3 separate regions of the Homo sapiens genome follow, and all the other regions are linked to region 2. The links are contacts of gene promoters, found by promoter capture Hi-C in human tissues and cell types (Jung and others, 2019). All regions are on one chromosome and are shown on one strand. Each heading gives the region's core, a stretch centred on a gene start or on the middle of the fragment in contact. The rest is flanking DNA. Distances are from core to core; before and after follow the strand shown. Region 1 overlaps POLDIP3 (DNA polymerase delta interacting protein 3). Region 2 holds the start of CCDC134 (coiled-coil domain containing 134). Region 3 has its middle 6.0 kb from the start of LINC01315.

Region 1 (4,825 bases), core at 271-2,770, 800 kb after region 2:
GCCCAGCTAATTTTTTATTTTTAGTAGAGACGGGATTTCACCATGTTGCCAAGCTGGTCTCCAACTCCTGACCTCAGGTAATCTGCCCACCTCAGCCTCCCAAAGTGCTGGGATTACAGGCGTGAGCCACCACGCCGAGCCAGCTTCATGTTTCTTTTTTTTTTGAGACAGAGTCTCACTCTGTCGCCCAGGCTGGAGTGCAGTGGCACAATCTCGGCTCACTGTAAGCTCTGCCTCCCAGGTTCACACCATTCTCCTGCCTCAGCCTCCCGAGTAGCTGGGACTGCAGGTGCCCGCCACCACACCCCGGATATTTTTTTTTTTTTTTTTTTTGAGACAGAGTCTCGCTCTGTCGCCCAGGCTGGAGTGCAGTGGCGCCTCTTGGCTCACTGCAAGCTCCACCTCCTGGGTTCGTGCCATTCTCCTGCCTCAGCCTCTAGAGTAGCTGGGACTACAGGCGCACACCACCACGCCTGGCTAATTTTTTGGTATTTTTAGTAGAGACGGGGTTTCACCATGTTTGCCAGGATGGTCTCGATCTCCTGACTTCGTGATCCACCCACCTCGGCCTCCGAAAGTGCTGGGATTACAGGCGTGAGCCACCACGCCCGAACTTTTTTGTATTTTTTAGTAGAGACGTGGTTTCACCGTGCTAGCCAGGATGGTTTCCATCTCCTGACCTTGTGATCTGCCCGCCTCTGCCTCCCAAAGTGTTGAGATTACAGGCGTGAGCCACCGCACCTGGCCCATATTTCTCTTAATTACTAACCAGGAGGCTGGTCCACATACTCAGGACAGTAACCAAAACTGAGTCTTTGAGCGTCTGAAGGAAAAACAAAAGAGGTGGCTGCCACAAGGACCCACCTAGGCAGCCCACTGGCCTCCCTGTCTGACACTTGGCTGTACCACTGAGCTGAGCAGCATGGACCTCCCTGATGATCCCAGATGTTGTTTTCTTTCCTTCTCTGCATGATGTCTGACCAACACTCTAGCCTAGCAAGCTTTCCCTGCATGCAGGCTGCACCTGGTAGAGCCCACAGATCAGGTGAGATGTATTCCTGCTAATGTTAACCAACGGAATCCAGACTCCAAGAGCAGCGCCAGAGCTGCTGACCACAAAGGGTTACGAAGCATGCAGAATGGCCAGCCACCAAGGAAAGAACACAGACTCCCCACTGTGGGATCACTCACACTTTCCCTATAGTGTCTCAAACACAGCACCTAGGAGCTGCAGCCCTGTACTTCACTTGCTGTGGGACCTTGAACAAATCAGAAGGCACCCCAGTGTCTCAGCGTTTATAAAACTAAGGGAATGGACTAGTTCCAGCTCTGAAAATCTTACGGCCCAAACAAAGAAATATTTCTGCATTGAAAGGCTCTATTCACGCCGGGCGCAGTGGCTTACGCCTGTAATCCCAGCACCTTGGGAGGCCGAGGCGTGCGGATCACCTGAGGTCAGGAGTTTGAGACCAGCCTGGCCAACATGGTGAAACCTCATCTCTACTAAAAATACAAAAATTAGCTGGGCGTGGCGGCAGGCGCCTGTAATCCCAGCTACTAGGGAGGCTGAGGCAGGATAATAGCTTGAACCCAGGAGACGGAGGTTGCAGTGAGCCAAGATTGCGCCATTGCACTCCAGCAGCCTGGGGGAGAAGAGCGAGATGTCGTCTCAAAACAAAAAAAACAACAGGTTCTATTCAACACGACCTCTCCCACCTGCCTGATCAGACACGCAGTGTAAGAAAACATGAAATGCCATACCATGTGGTGGAGAAAGCCGCCTGAGGCTGCAAACTTCATCTGTTTAGTAGGAACGGAAGCTATACCATCATCATCTTCATCCAGGTCATATAAATTCTGAGAATATAACATAAAGAAATATAAGCAAATGTGGCATCTGGGCCCTCAACAGACATCTAGAACAGGCATGGCAAGGAAATGGCTGCTGGAGAAACAAAGGGACCAAGGAGAAGTGGGCACAGGGGTGACGGTGCCTGGAAAGACTGGGGCCCAAGTCTTCACAGGCTAACTCCCTGTCAGCAAGGACCCAGTGAAAGTCCTACAACTTCCAGATACATCAGAAGTCCCTTTTTCCCAGTGGGCAGTATGTACCAAGAGTCCCTAAAATGTTTCTTTATATCCTTTGGCTTGGAAAGTCCATCCTTGTTAATATGACCTACAGAAATAAATCCAAACCCTAGAAAGAGCTTTATTTACAAAGATGTTCACAGCAGAAGGATTTCTAACAGTGAAAATGACAGGAAAATGGTTTAAATAAAACTGGAATGCCAACTATATAGATTTTGCAGTTACTAAAACATGTACAGTAAATATGAAATGTCACAGAGAAATGCTTGAGTTACAAAGTGAAAAAAGAATGATACAAAATTGGATAAGAATATAACCATGGCTGGGCTCAGTGGCTCAAGCCTGTCATCCCAGCACTTTGGGAGGCCGAGGAGGGCGGATCACGAGGTCAGGAGATCGAGATCATCCTGGCTAACATGGTGAAACCCCGTCTCTACGAAAAATACAAACAATGAGCCGGGCATGGTGGCATGCGCCTGTAGTCCCAGCTACTCGGGAGGCTGAGGCAGGAGAATGGTGTGAACCCGGGAGGCGGAGCTTGCAGTGAGCCGAGATCGTGCCACTGCACTCCAGTCTGAGTGACAGAGCGAGACTCGGTCTCAAAAAAAAAAAAAGAATATATAACCACAACCACAACTATGAGTTAAGTAAAAAACAGACTGGGGCTGGGCACAGTGGCTCACGCCTGTAATCCCAGCACTTTGGGAGGCCAAGGTGGGCGAATTACCTGAGGTCAGGAGTTCGAGATCAGCCTGACCAACATGGAGAAACACCGTCTCTACTAAAAATACAAAATTAGCCAGGCGCGGTGACTCATGCTTGTAATCCCAGCTACTTGGGAGGCAGAGGCAGGAGGATCGATTGAACCCAGGAGTTCGAGACCAGCCTGGGCAACATGACAAGACTCCATCTCTACAAAAATTAGCCAGATGTGGTGGTATGCACCTGTGATCCCAGCTACTCAGGAGGCTGAGGTGGGAGGATCATTTGAGCCCAGAAACTCAAGGCTGCAGTGAGCCATGACTGCACCACTGCACTCCAGCCTGGGGGACAGAGTGAAACCCTGTATCAAAAAAAAAGAAGCGTACATGTAAGGAACTATGGCAAAATTTCAACAGTGACTGGCTTTGGAGAATAGGAACTTGAGGGACTTTTTGGCAAGTTTTCTATATTAAGCACATAGAACTTTTATTTAAAAAAATTAGGCCGGGCGCGGTGGCTCACACCTGTAATCCCAGCTCTCAGGGAGGCTAAGAGGCGGGAGGATAGCTTGAGCCCAGGAGTTCGAGACCTGCCTGGGCAATATAGCGAGACCCCGTTCTCCAGAAAAAGGAAAAAAAAACAAAACAAAAGACAAAAAAAAAAAAAGCGTAAAAAAATTAAAAAAAACAAACAAAACTTTTTTTAGCCTCTCTGCCCCCTATGCCTCCCTTCCTCTATTAAGAAGTTTCTTCTTGGCTGGGTGTGGTGGCTCACGCCTGTAATCCCAGCACTTTGGGAGGCTGAGGCGGGGGGATCACAAGGTCAAGAAATTGAGACCATCCTAGCCAACATGGTGAAACCCCATCTCTACTAAAAATACAAAAATTAGCTGGGTGTGGTGGTACGCGCCTGTAGTCCCAGATACTCAGGAGGCTGAGGCAGGAGAATCACTTGAACCCGGGAGGCAGAGGTTGCAGTGAGCCGAGATTACGCCACTGCACTCCAGCCTAGCGACAGAGCGAGACTCCGTCTCAAAAAATAAAAAAATAAAAAAAATTTCTTCTTTAAACTCAAATTGCAAAAAGTTCGCTGTAACCCTGCCTCCAATACTACCAACTGGGAACTACCAACTGAGCAAGCCTCAGTCCATCCACCCAAGTAGGCCTCATCAAAACACGTGCACACCTACATGTTCGCTATGTACACACAGATTCTCTCTCTCTCTCTCACTCACTCACTCTACCTGTTTGGCCTGGTGGTTATTGACAACATTGATTCTCATTCCGGCAGGATGGGGATGAAGTGGTGCCATGGCTTTCTGCTGTGGAACCTGGAAACACTCAGTGGTCAGAATCCACCCCACAGGGTCCACATGCATTCTCTAGAAGAAGGGGGTTACTGAACTTGATACATGGTGGGCATGCAGCTTTGGTCTTTGGTAAAAGGCACTACAGAGGGCCTTATCCTCCACAGTAGGAAGTAACAGAAGAATCATCAATCCAGAGACCATGCCGGTAACGCACATGTAGGGCTTAATGGACTTGGCTCAGTAAATGTTTGCTGTGGCCGCTGCTGTTCCTATTACCAAAGCTGCTATGAAGGTTAAATGACATTGTTTCCTTTCCCTCTGTGGTGGCAGCTGTGAAGGGTGGCCAGGGCCTTGGACTAGGGGCCAAATCCCACTGGGCCTGGGGGTGGAGTGAGGACTGTAAGGTCACAGATATTAAGGGCCTGCCACATAGCATGTGCTCAATAAATCTTTTGTCCTTTCCTCTCTCTTTCTTCCACCAGTATCTCACCTGGGAAAGTCACCAAATTTCTATGGGCCTCCTTTTTCTTTTTTTTTAGAACTGAGATAATACCTTTCCTTCCTTGTATAGTTCCTTGGCTATAACGTACTTAAAGCCTCTGTAAGGAGCAAAGTCTGTATTATGCCAACACTTGAGAGGATAGTATTTTTGCCCAGTCACTCCTGGCACCTTGCCTCTAAATCTACCTTTGTTACTAGCTTTCTGGGAATTCATGACAAAAGCCA
Region 2 (4,792 bases), core at 1,743-4,242:
GGTCCCATCCCCAACATATCTCATTATTATAGGCAAATATTACAAAATTCGAAAAAAAATCTGAAATACAAAACACTTCTGGTCCCAAGAATTTTGGATAAGGGATACTCAACCTGTACCTACCTCCTAGGGTTGTAGCAAGGACTTAAATGAGTTAATATATGTAAAGCACCAAAAACAGCTCCTGGCTTGGTGTGAATGTTATATTGGTGTCTGTTATTATTCCTACTCCCTTTCCAAATAACGAAACTGAGGCCAGAGACATTCAGTCGTGCCCAGAATCACAGAGCTAGTGATACAATCAGGATTTGACCTCAGATTTGCCTGTCTCCAAAGCTACATCACCGAACTCAGAAAGGAGCTAGTCCTTCCCCCATGAGCTTTGGAGACAGTTGTCCAAGCGCAGTTGGTTCAAGTGATCCTCAGCCCAACACACACACACACACACACACACACACACACACACACACACACACACACACACATAGTGTGTGTCTCTGTGACTGCCATGTTCTTAAGAAAGCTTGGATGGCCAGGTGCACACACACACACACACACACAATGTGTGTGTGTCTGTGTGACTTCCATGTTCTTAAGAAAGCTTGGATGGCCGGGTGCAGTGGCTCACGCCTGTAATCCCAGCACTTTGGGAGGCCAAGGTGGGCAGATCACCTGAGCTCAGGAGTTTGAGACCAGCCTGGCCAACATGGTGAAACCCCATCTCTACTAAAAAATACAAAAATTAGCTGGGCGTGGTAGCATGAGCCTGTAATCCCAGCTACCCAGGAGGCTGAGGCAGGAGAATCACTGGAACCTGGGAGGCAGAGGCTGCAGTGAGCCAAGATCGCGCCACTGTACTCCAGCCTGGGCAACAGACCAAGACTCCGTCTCAAAAAAAAAGAAAGCTTGGGGGCCGGGCGCAGTGGCTCACACTGTAATCCCAGCCAAGGTGAGTGGATCACTTGAGGTCAGGAGTTCTGAGACGAGCCTGGCCTACATGGTAAAACCCCATCTCTACTAAAAATACAAAAATTAGCCGGGCATGGTGGTGCATGCCTGTAATCCAAGCTACTTGGGAGGATGAGGCAGGACAATCACTTGAACCTGGGAGGTGGAGATTGCAGTGACCAGAGAGCCGAGATTGTGCCACTGCACACTCCAGCCTGGGTGGCAGAGTGAGACTATGTCTCAAAAAAAAAAAAAAAAAGCAAGCTTGGGGCTGTGGCAGTGGTCAGAGACCCTCTGGTAGGTGGCTGGTTGCACCCAGAGACACTGCAGTCCAGAGATACTGCAGTCCAGAGGTGTGTGTGAGGGTAGTTTGCTTCCTCTGCACCCCTCTGGCTGCCTCCCTGGCTCTCTTCCTTGCCCCTTCCGTGCAATAGTTCCCTGTTGAATAGCAACTACCTAGCCCAGGTGTTCAGGACCCAATTTCAGAATCCATCCCACTATTCTCAGGAGCACTTCTGTTCTTGCCTGACCATTCTTGACTGTTTTGGGCTCTGGAAGTGTGATGCCCCCATGGTTGGCCCCACTTCTCTGCTGTTTTCCTCTCATGTTTTGCTGCCAGCTGCCTGGGAGGGGTGGCTGTATCCCTGTCCCACATCAGAAACTGATCCTCAGGACTTGAAGGCCCAGAAGTGGAGAGAGAATGAGACCTGGAGACAAAGGGCATAATTGTTGGGGAAATGGATGACAGCTGAAGCTATTCATATGGAGCCATATACTCTATTGTTGAAATAGAATAAGGAAATAAAATGATACACTCACATACCTGCGCGAGCTCTCCAAAAACACTGTACTACCTTGTCTACCAGGAGCTGGTTTCTCAGCCAGTTGGATAAGGGATTGTTTCAGCAAGGAGACTGATGGCCTCCTCAGGGAAGGAGGGACGGGACAGGATTTGTTCTTGTAACAGCATTCAAGGAGTCAGCTGGGTGCCTCAGCTGTACTCAGAGAACACCAGTCAGGCCATCCTGGGGCTGGCAGGGCAGAGAAAGGCCTAGGGGTTGGGGCTGCTGCGATTCAACAGCTCCCAGAGGCACTTGACCTGCTCCCTCGCCTCACGTGGAGGTGGATAGAGGTAAACTTTCCAGGCAAGGAGGGTCAAATTCTCAGCTTTCCTATCAGAACGAAACTGTCCCAGCCTCAGCCCTTGTCTGGCTAAAGTAGGTCACCTCTGTCCCTTCCCGTACAGCCGTCATCAGAACTGGTGTTTATGCACCCTCGTGGGTAGATCCTGGGAATGCATGTCCAGCTTGGTCCCCGGCATGAGGTCTGCGCTCGACAGTGCCTGCCCTGCGCCTGTTCTGGGGAGCTCAGCCCAGACCGGGCCTCCAGCTCCCTTCCCGCCCGGCAGGGGCCCCGGGCCCGGAGATGGCCACGCCACGCTGCCTTCTCGGGTCTGACTGTCCTGATCCTGCGCAAAAGTGGGGCTGCACTCGGCCTAACGAACGGACGAGGAAGCCCCCGCCGCACTTGGCTTATTAGTTGGTGGACCGGAGGGGCAAGGAGGGGATGCCCGAATCCTGCACTGAGTCTCTGAGGTCCTTAAAGAAGAACAAAAGTGCTAGTCACCGCCCACTAAACTCACGTTGCGATCTAAAGTTTAAAAACTCGGCCACAGACGACGACACAGTTTCAGGGAGGGCGCGCAGAAGGTCGCCCGGCCGACAGGAGCTGGGACCCCAGTTTGCTGATTCACGCCTTAAATTGGGCACAGACCCCACCCACAGATTTAACTTCCTCCAACACAAGCTAAATCCAGGGCCACGTACCCAGGGCCCGCAGGAGGGACAGGACGAGGATGGTGCCCACAGCGCGCTGGAGGCACGCCAGAGCCTGGAGGGGCAGGCAGGGGCGGTGGAGCGGGGCCGGAAGTGAGGCTAGCGGAGCCCCGCAGTGGCGGCTCGCGCTCATTGGCCGGGAGCAGCGCGGTGGGCGGGACGGAGCTCGGCGGTCTGCGCTCGGTTGCTAGCCGTTTGCTCCCGCTTTCAGTTGCTTTGCTGTTAGCCTGTTGGACCTTCGAGCCTAGCTGCTCGCACAGGACTCGGCCACCTGCCCTTCCTGCACCGACTGGCCAGGTAGGTGGCTGTAGGGGCCGCGGGCTGCAGGTTCCCGGGAAGGATAATGAGAGAACCGAGGGCCTCGAACCGGCTGCAGGTGGTGGGGAGGGAGTTTCGTGGACCTGGACGCCTCTGTTCCTTGAGAAGGCTCGCTCCCTCCTCCGGGAGCTCCGAAGGCTCGGGGTCAACCACCTGGGCCCCCGACCCCGGTAGCTGGCTCAAGGCCCGCCACTACCTGGTACCTCTGCAGGAGTTCAGAGCCTCATGCTGAGCCAGGAGGAGCTCCGGGTGACGCATACGGCAGGATCGGGATTGAGAGGCTGAAAAAGTGAGTTTAACAGTAGAGAAAGCAGGACCTGTCCCGCAGGCTGCTGTTCTGGCTTTTCTTTCCCACTACCTGCTTCAGTCATTGCCAGCTGTCTGGTATTCTCCTTGGCCCCTAAAGTTTTGCCCTAGCCTGGTTCTGGTTCCCTTGAGTTTGGAGCAGGAGGTGGAATGTGGAGGGTCCTGGGTGAACTTGGACTATTCCTTCTCTAGGTTTCACTTATCTCGTCTGCTTGGGGGTAGGGGGTTCTCCGGATGATCTCTGCAGCCCCTCACTGTCTGTAACTGAGCATCTCTCCCCTGGGGCAGGTGTCCTGGTAGTTCAGTAGCCAGCTCTGATCTCAGGTAGCCTGTGCTCATTTACAAAGAGTCAGAAGACAGAGCACTGGACTTAGAGCCAAACAGACACTTGGTTCAGCCTGGGAATAGCTGTGTGACTTTGGGCAGTCACCTCATTTTTCTGTGCCTTGATTTCACATTGGTAACATTGGGGAGTTGTAATCTGAGTGTGAGACCTCTCCTGACCACTTTATGTAATCTTGTACCTGACCGACACCCTCTCATCCCTCTGTGCTTATTTTACAAGTTTATTGATCAACTCTTATCCCTACTAGAGACAAGTACCATGAGTGCAGAGATTTTTGCTTATTTATTGCTGTATTCCCGCCTCTAGAACAGTGCCTAGAGTGTGGTAGGTACTGTCAACCTAAATAGCAGAGTGAGAGACTCTAAAAAAATGATGTTTACTTGGGAATAGACATTGTAGTGACAATATGTGTGCCATAGTAACCTGTGTACGTATTTGGGGAGGTAAAGGAAGACAAAGGTTTTGAAAAGGAAAAATGAGGATTACATGATTATTTTGAGATAGTTATCCTTGGCTACAAGGATGAATAGCAAGAGTGGTGCTAGTCTGAGGTTGGACAGGCAGTTGCAGGGCAGATGTCCTCACAGAAAGATTTTTCTGTGTAAGTTTGCAGTGGCCTTTGTGCAGGGTTGTGGTTTTTGCATTTTTTGTGATCTTGTTATCAGTCATTTGTGCATAAGAACCCTCTTTTCACAACCTTCCTCGGTTTTATTTGTCAGAGTTGTTGTTCTTGTTTTTTCCCATTGGAGAATCATGCTTTAAATTTGTCAGAGTTTTTAACACAAACGACTCTGTTTTGATTCTAACAACTTTCATATTTCCCCCTTTTGGTCAAGATCTTTCTCCAAAAACTTTACTGATCAGTCATCCTGTAGTTAGGTCCCTCAGTGCTGGGACGGACCTATCTTGGGTTGTTGGTCTCTTGCCATGTTGGAGACTAGGAGTCTCCAGTTGGAGACTGGTGACTAGGAGTCAGTGTCAAAACCCTTGTAGTGGTTGGGAGCAGGGGCTCACGTCTGTAATCCCAGTACTTTGGGAG
Region 3 (4,788 bases), core at 380-2,879, 570 kb after region 2:
GGGTGCTTCAATCATAGCTGCACATAGCTGCAATATTTCATTTGACAGAGTCAGATGGGGGACTTAGATGCTTAAGCTTATCTCTGTACTTTTCCATGTCTTCGAAATATTTCATTAACATCCACACACACACAAAAATGGCAGGGGAGAGGTTAAGTGTTTCTAAATTCTAGTTTGGGATTTATAAATGGCTTCAAATACCAGTGTGCCTTACTTTACACAGTGGAGAGGGTCTTAAAATTCTGCGTCAATTGAATCCCGTTGGCCTACCCAGTAAATCTTAACGCCTCTGATGCTCTAGCTTCATTTCTGATTGATTTTCCCTGGCAGAGGTACCAAATTCTTTGCTTTAAGTGTCAGGCTCTCTCTGTCAAGTAGTTAATGACCTATAAAGCACTTAAAACGTACTGGAGGAGATGCGATTTGGAGGCACCCTGCAGTGTATCCTCTCTTATTGTCGGTAATCACCCCTCATTTATTTGCTCTTATTGGTTTGGAATTTGCTATCAGGTTTTCCTAAAGCCAAGCCCACCAGGAATGGTCCAATTCTATGTGGGCCCAGATGGGTGCCGGGATTGGAACCTAGGGGCAGTGGGCAGCCAGTGTGGCCTCTTTCCTCACGAGCCCTTCGGCTTGGGTGCCCTGGTCATCTCATGGCCACACATTCAGCGGCTCTGCCTCTTGCCAGCTGAGTGATCTTGAGCATTCAGTGCCCCCCTCCAAGCCTCACTTTCCTCTTCCACACTGCCCCAGAGCTGGTGCCTGCCCCTGAACAACTGGAAGATGACTCCAGCCTGGTGAAGTCAGTGCTGGGAGCCGTAGAAGAGGCCCAAGGTCAGGGTGAGCATGGAGGTCATGACCGAGGCAAGCTCCAGGGTCAGAGGTCATAGGAAGCATCCCCAAGGAGCACAAAACAGGGTGGGCCACTGACCTCGGGGCAGAAGAGCCTCTCAGAGAGGGGCCCAGCCTGGGAGGCAGAATAGGCTCTTCTAGGAGGGAAAGTGTCTTCATTTTCTTTTCTTTTTTTTTCCTTGAGACGGAGTCTTGCTCTGTCGCCCAGGCTGGAGTGCAATGGCGCAATCTTGGCTCATTGCAACCGCCATCTCCCAGGTTCAAGCGATTCTCCTGCCTCAGCCTCCTGAGTACTGGGACTACAGGCATGCACCACTACACCCAGCTAATTTTTCTATTTTTAGTAGAGACAGGTTTCGCCATGTTGGCCAGGCTGGTCTCAAACTCCTGACTTCAGGTGATCCACCTGCCCTCAGCCTCCCAAAGTGCTGGGATTACAGGCGTGAGCCTGGCCAGTGTCTTCATTTTCTATGGCTGCTGTAACTAATCACCACAAACCTGGTGACTTAAAACAACACACGTTATCCCTATTGAAAAGCCGGGAGAAAAAAGAAAGAAAAAAATTATTTTTTAAAAACCCACAACACGACACACATTTATTTTCTTACAGTTCTCAAGACCGGAAATTCAGAATCAGTTTCAACAGGCAGAAACCAGGGTGTTCACAGGGCCACGTTCCCTCCAGAAGCTTTGAGGAGTATCCGTTTCCTTGCCCTCTCCTGCTTCTGGGGCTCTGTTCCCCGGCTGTGGCCTCTTCTTCCATGTTCAAAACCAGCGGCGTACCATCTTCAGACCTCTTTCTCTGCTTCCATCATCACACCACCTTCTGCCTTTGGTCTGTAATCTCCCTCTGCATCCCCCTTTATAAGGGCGTTTGTGATTGTAATGATCCAGGATAACCTCCTCATCTCCAGATCCTTAATCACATCTGCGGCGCCTTTGTCATATAAGGTAACATTCACAGGTTCCAGGATTAGGATGTGGATATCTTGGCGAGGGTGGGATTCTTCAGGCTACCACAGAAAGCCACCAACCAAAGTGGTTCAGATCATGGATTCTGAAGCCACTGCTGGGGCCTGAATCTCAACTGCACCATCTGCCAGCTAGGTGACTTTGGGCGAGTTGTTATATCTTTTTAAGGCTCAGTTTCCTCATCTGTGAAATGAGATCAATGCCTACTTATTGCCACAGATAAAAACTGAATAGGCATTTAACCATCTGACAGGTAGAGGGAGTTTCATGCGCCAGAGCCTGGACCTTGAAAGAGGCCCCAGCAGGGCCCTTCTGTAGGAGGAAAGGAGGAAGGGCAGGAAAGGGTACGGGCAGGGCAGGCTGGGTGGAGGAAGAAGCTGAACCACGTCCCAGGGAAGTGTGTGTGTGCTCTGTCCTAAGGGTAATGAACAGGGGACAACAGAAAGTGTTTAAGTAGGGCAATTTTTTTTGGTTTATTTTTGTTTTGTGTTATTGAAATGCAATTCACATATTATAAATTTACCCTTTTAAAGTGTACAATTCAATGGATTTTAGCATATTCAAGAGGTTGCGTAACCATCACTGCTGTCGCATTCCAGAACATTTCCATTACCTCATAAAAAATCCCCATACCCATTAGCAGTTCTTTTTTTTTTTTTTTTTTTTGAGACAGAGTCTTGCTCTGTCGCCCAGGCTGGAGTGCAATGGCGCTATCTCGGCTCACTGCAAGCTCTGTCTCCCGGGTTCACGCCACTCTCCTGCCTCAGCCTCCCAAGTAGCTGGAACTACACGGACCCGTCACCACGCCCGGCTAATTTTTTGTATTTTTAGTAGAGGTGGGGTTTCACCGTGTTAGCCAGGATGGTCTCGATCTCCTGACCTCATGATCCGCCCACCTTGGCCTCCCAAAGTGCTGATTACAGGTGTGAGCCACCGTGCCCGGCCAGCAGTTCTTTTTTTTTTTTTTTTTTTTTGAGACAGAGTCTCACTCTGTCGCCCAGGCTGGAGGGCAGTGGCACCCTGTCGGCTCACTGCAACCTCAGTCTCCTGGGTTCAAGCAATTCTCCTGCCTCAGCCTCCTGAGTAGCTGGGATTATAGGCGCCCACCATCACGCCCAGCTAATTTTTATATTTTTAGTAGAGATATGGTTTCACCATGTTGGCCAGGCTGGTCTCGAACTCCTGACCTCGATGATCCACCTGCCTTGGCCTCCCAAAGTGCTAGGATTACAGGCGTGAGCCACCGTGCCCGGCTGTCTGGATAATTTTTGTATTTTTAGTTGCGATAGGGTTTCACCCATGTTGGCCAGGCGTGGGCCACTGCGCCTGGCCCCCATTAGCAGTTCTAAAGCTCTCTGCAACCTTGAACTCCAATCTTGAGCTCCAGGCTTGAACCCAGGAAGAAGGCAGGGGTGCCTTGAGCACCACAATGACCATCTCTATTTCTGGAACTGGTCACTTGGCTGTGGGTCCTACCCTTATCCCTGGGACTCAGCTGCACAGACTTGTCCCAATGGGTCAGGAAGGACAGCAGCTCTCCTGACTCCACCCCCGTCACATGACATGCCAGGGTTCCCCACCCATAAGGGGCAGGAGATTGTGGGGCTGCTGGAGGAAGTTGTGGGGGCATTTGAGGCTGAGTGCTGGCTAAGCAGCAATGGCTTATGCCGGTAATCCCAGCATTTGGGAGGCCAAGGTGGCAGGATCGCTTGAGCTCAGGAGTTTGAGACCAGCCTGGGCAACACGGCAAAACCCGGTCTCTATGAAAAATACAAAAAATTAGCCAGGTGTGATGGTGCGCACCTGTAGTGCCAGCTACTCCGGAGGCTGAGGTAGAGGACCGCTGGAGCACAGAGGTTGAGGCTGCAGTGAGCTGTGATCGCACCACTGCACTCCAGCCTGGATGACAGAGTGAGACCCTGTCTCAAAAAAAAAAAAAAAAAAAAAAAACCAAACCGAAAACACATTAAAATTTTTCTTTTTGGAAAACCATCCAATCAGCCAGAGAGACACAGAAAAAAAGGAGCTTCTCCAGTGCTCCCCACACACCCCCGCCACCACCCCTGGCCGGGCTCTGTTCTGCTGGCTACTTGGGGGAGTCTCAGGCCCTGAATGATCAGGGACATGTGGCCTGGCCTAGAGGCAGCTGAGGCAGGAGGGAGGCCATCTGGTGAGGCGAGAGGTAGCGGTCAGGACATTGCTGAGTCCGCTGAGGCATCCCCTGGCAGTCACAAGGGCTTCTGGGATCAATTAGCAGAACCACCCTAACAGGGCTCATGGCCCCTGACGCAGGCACGTGTCCTCAGAGCCTCTTGACAGCCTTGGCAGCCAGGAATTGAAAGGAGGTGGGGGAGGGGGATGTCGGCCTTTCCCCTGTGCCTGGCCTCGCCTCCAACAGCTCAGCACAGAGCCTCCCCGCCCTCCCCATTAGGCGGAGGCTGCCGGCCTTCCAGAGCCTGCACTTCTTATTGCCTTGCTTCTCCTGGTGTTGTGGGTGCAGCAACAGTCTGCCTCAATTTTCACATATGTAAAATGGGTCATATACTAATTAAAGATCACTTCCTGGAAATAAAAAAAAAAATTATCCCTTTTTCACTAAGAACAGGTGTTGAATCAACAGCAAAGGAAAAGACTCCTTTATTTTTTGAACAAACAGCTCCTAAGCCCCTACTGTGAGTCAGGCACAGACAAAGAGAGACAAATGAGGTGTTTGCCATGCTTGGGAAACACGGGAATTCTGGGGGGAGATGGATGTGTGTGAACTGATTCAGTTTGAAGAGGTCAAAGAAATGAGAGGATTCAGTAAACTGCTTGGTGTGGGAGGGGGCTTTAAGGAAGACTTCACAGTGGAGGTAGCATTTTTTTTTTTTTTTGAGATGGAGTTTTACTCTGTGGCTGATATCTGTGGTATGTGCCACCACACCCGGCTAATTTTTGTATTTTTAGTAGAGATGGGGTTTTGCC

Evidence for each region. Contacts are between HindIII fragments. The study calls those that stand out against the background at their distance.
Region 1: a contact is called between a fragment that was not itself captured here and the fragment with the promoter of CCDC134 in region 2, in 1 of the 25 tissues and cell types used here (dorsolateral prefrontal cortex).
Region 3: a fragment that was not itself captured here is called in contact with the fragment with the promoter of CCDC134 in region 2 in 1 of the 25 tissues and cell types used here (mesenchymal stem cells).

The regions. Positions count from the first base shown.
Region 1 is chr22:42,597,937-42,602,761 of GRCh38, forward strand. POLDIP3 (DNA polymerase delta interacting protein 3) reads right to left here. Exons shown (of 9, transcript NM_032311.5): 3 at 4,034-4,120; 4 at 1,762-1,857. Among named protein-coding and RNA genes, the nearest start is that of POLDIP3, 15 kb to the right of the region's middle. RefSeq lists an enhancer at 4,267-4,561. The HindIII fragment of the contact is 3,012 bases long and covers 15-3,026 here.
Region 2 is chr22:41,797,687-41,802,478 of GRCh38, forward strand. CCDC134 (coiled-coil domain containing 134) reads left to right here and starts at 2,993. Exons shown (of 7, transcript NM_024821.5): 1 at 2,993-3,080. It overlaps MEI1 (meiotic double-stranded break formation protein 1), which reads left to right. Exons shown (of 31, transcript NM_152513.4): 31 at 1,568-1,768. The coding sequence ends at 1,613. RefSeq lists enhancers at 1,814-2,800, 2,576-2,655, 2,726-2,805 and silencers at 2,276-2,365, 2,956-3,015. The HindIII fragment of the contact is 18,239 bases long and covers 1,059-4,792 here.
Region 3 is chr22:42,372,789-42,377,576 of GRCh38, forward strand. No RefSeq gene overlaps it. Among named protein-coding and RNA genes, the nearest start is that of LINC01315, 6.0 kb to the left of the region's middle. The HindIII fragment of the contact is 4,774 bases long and covers 1-4,016 here.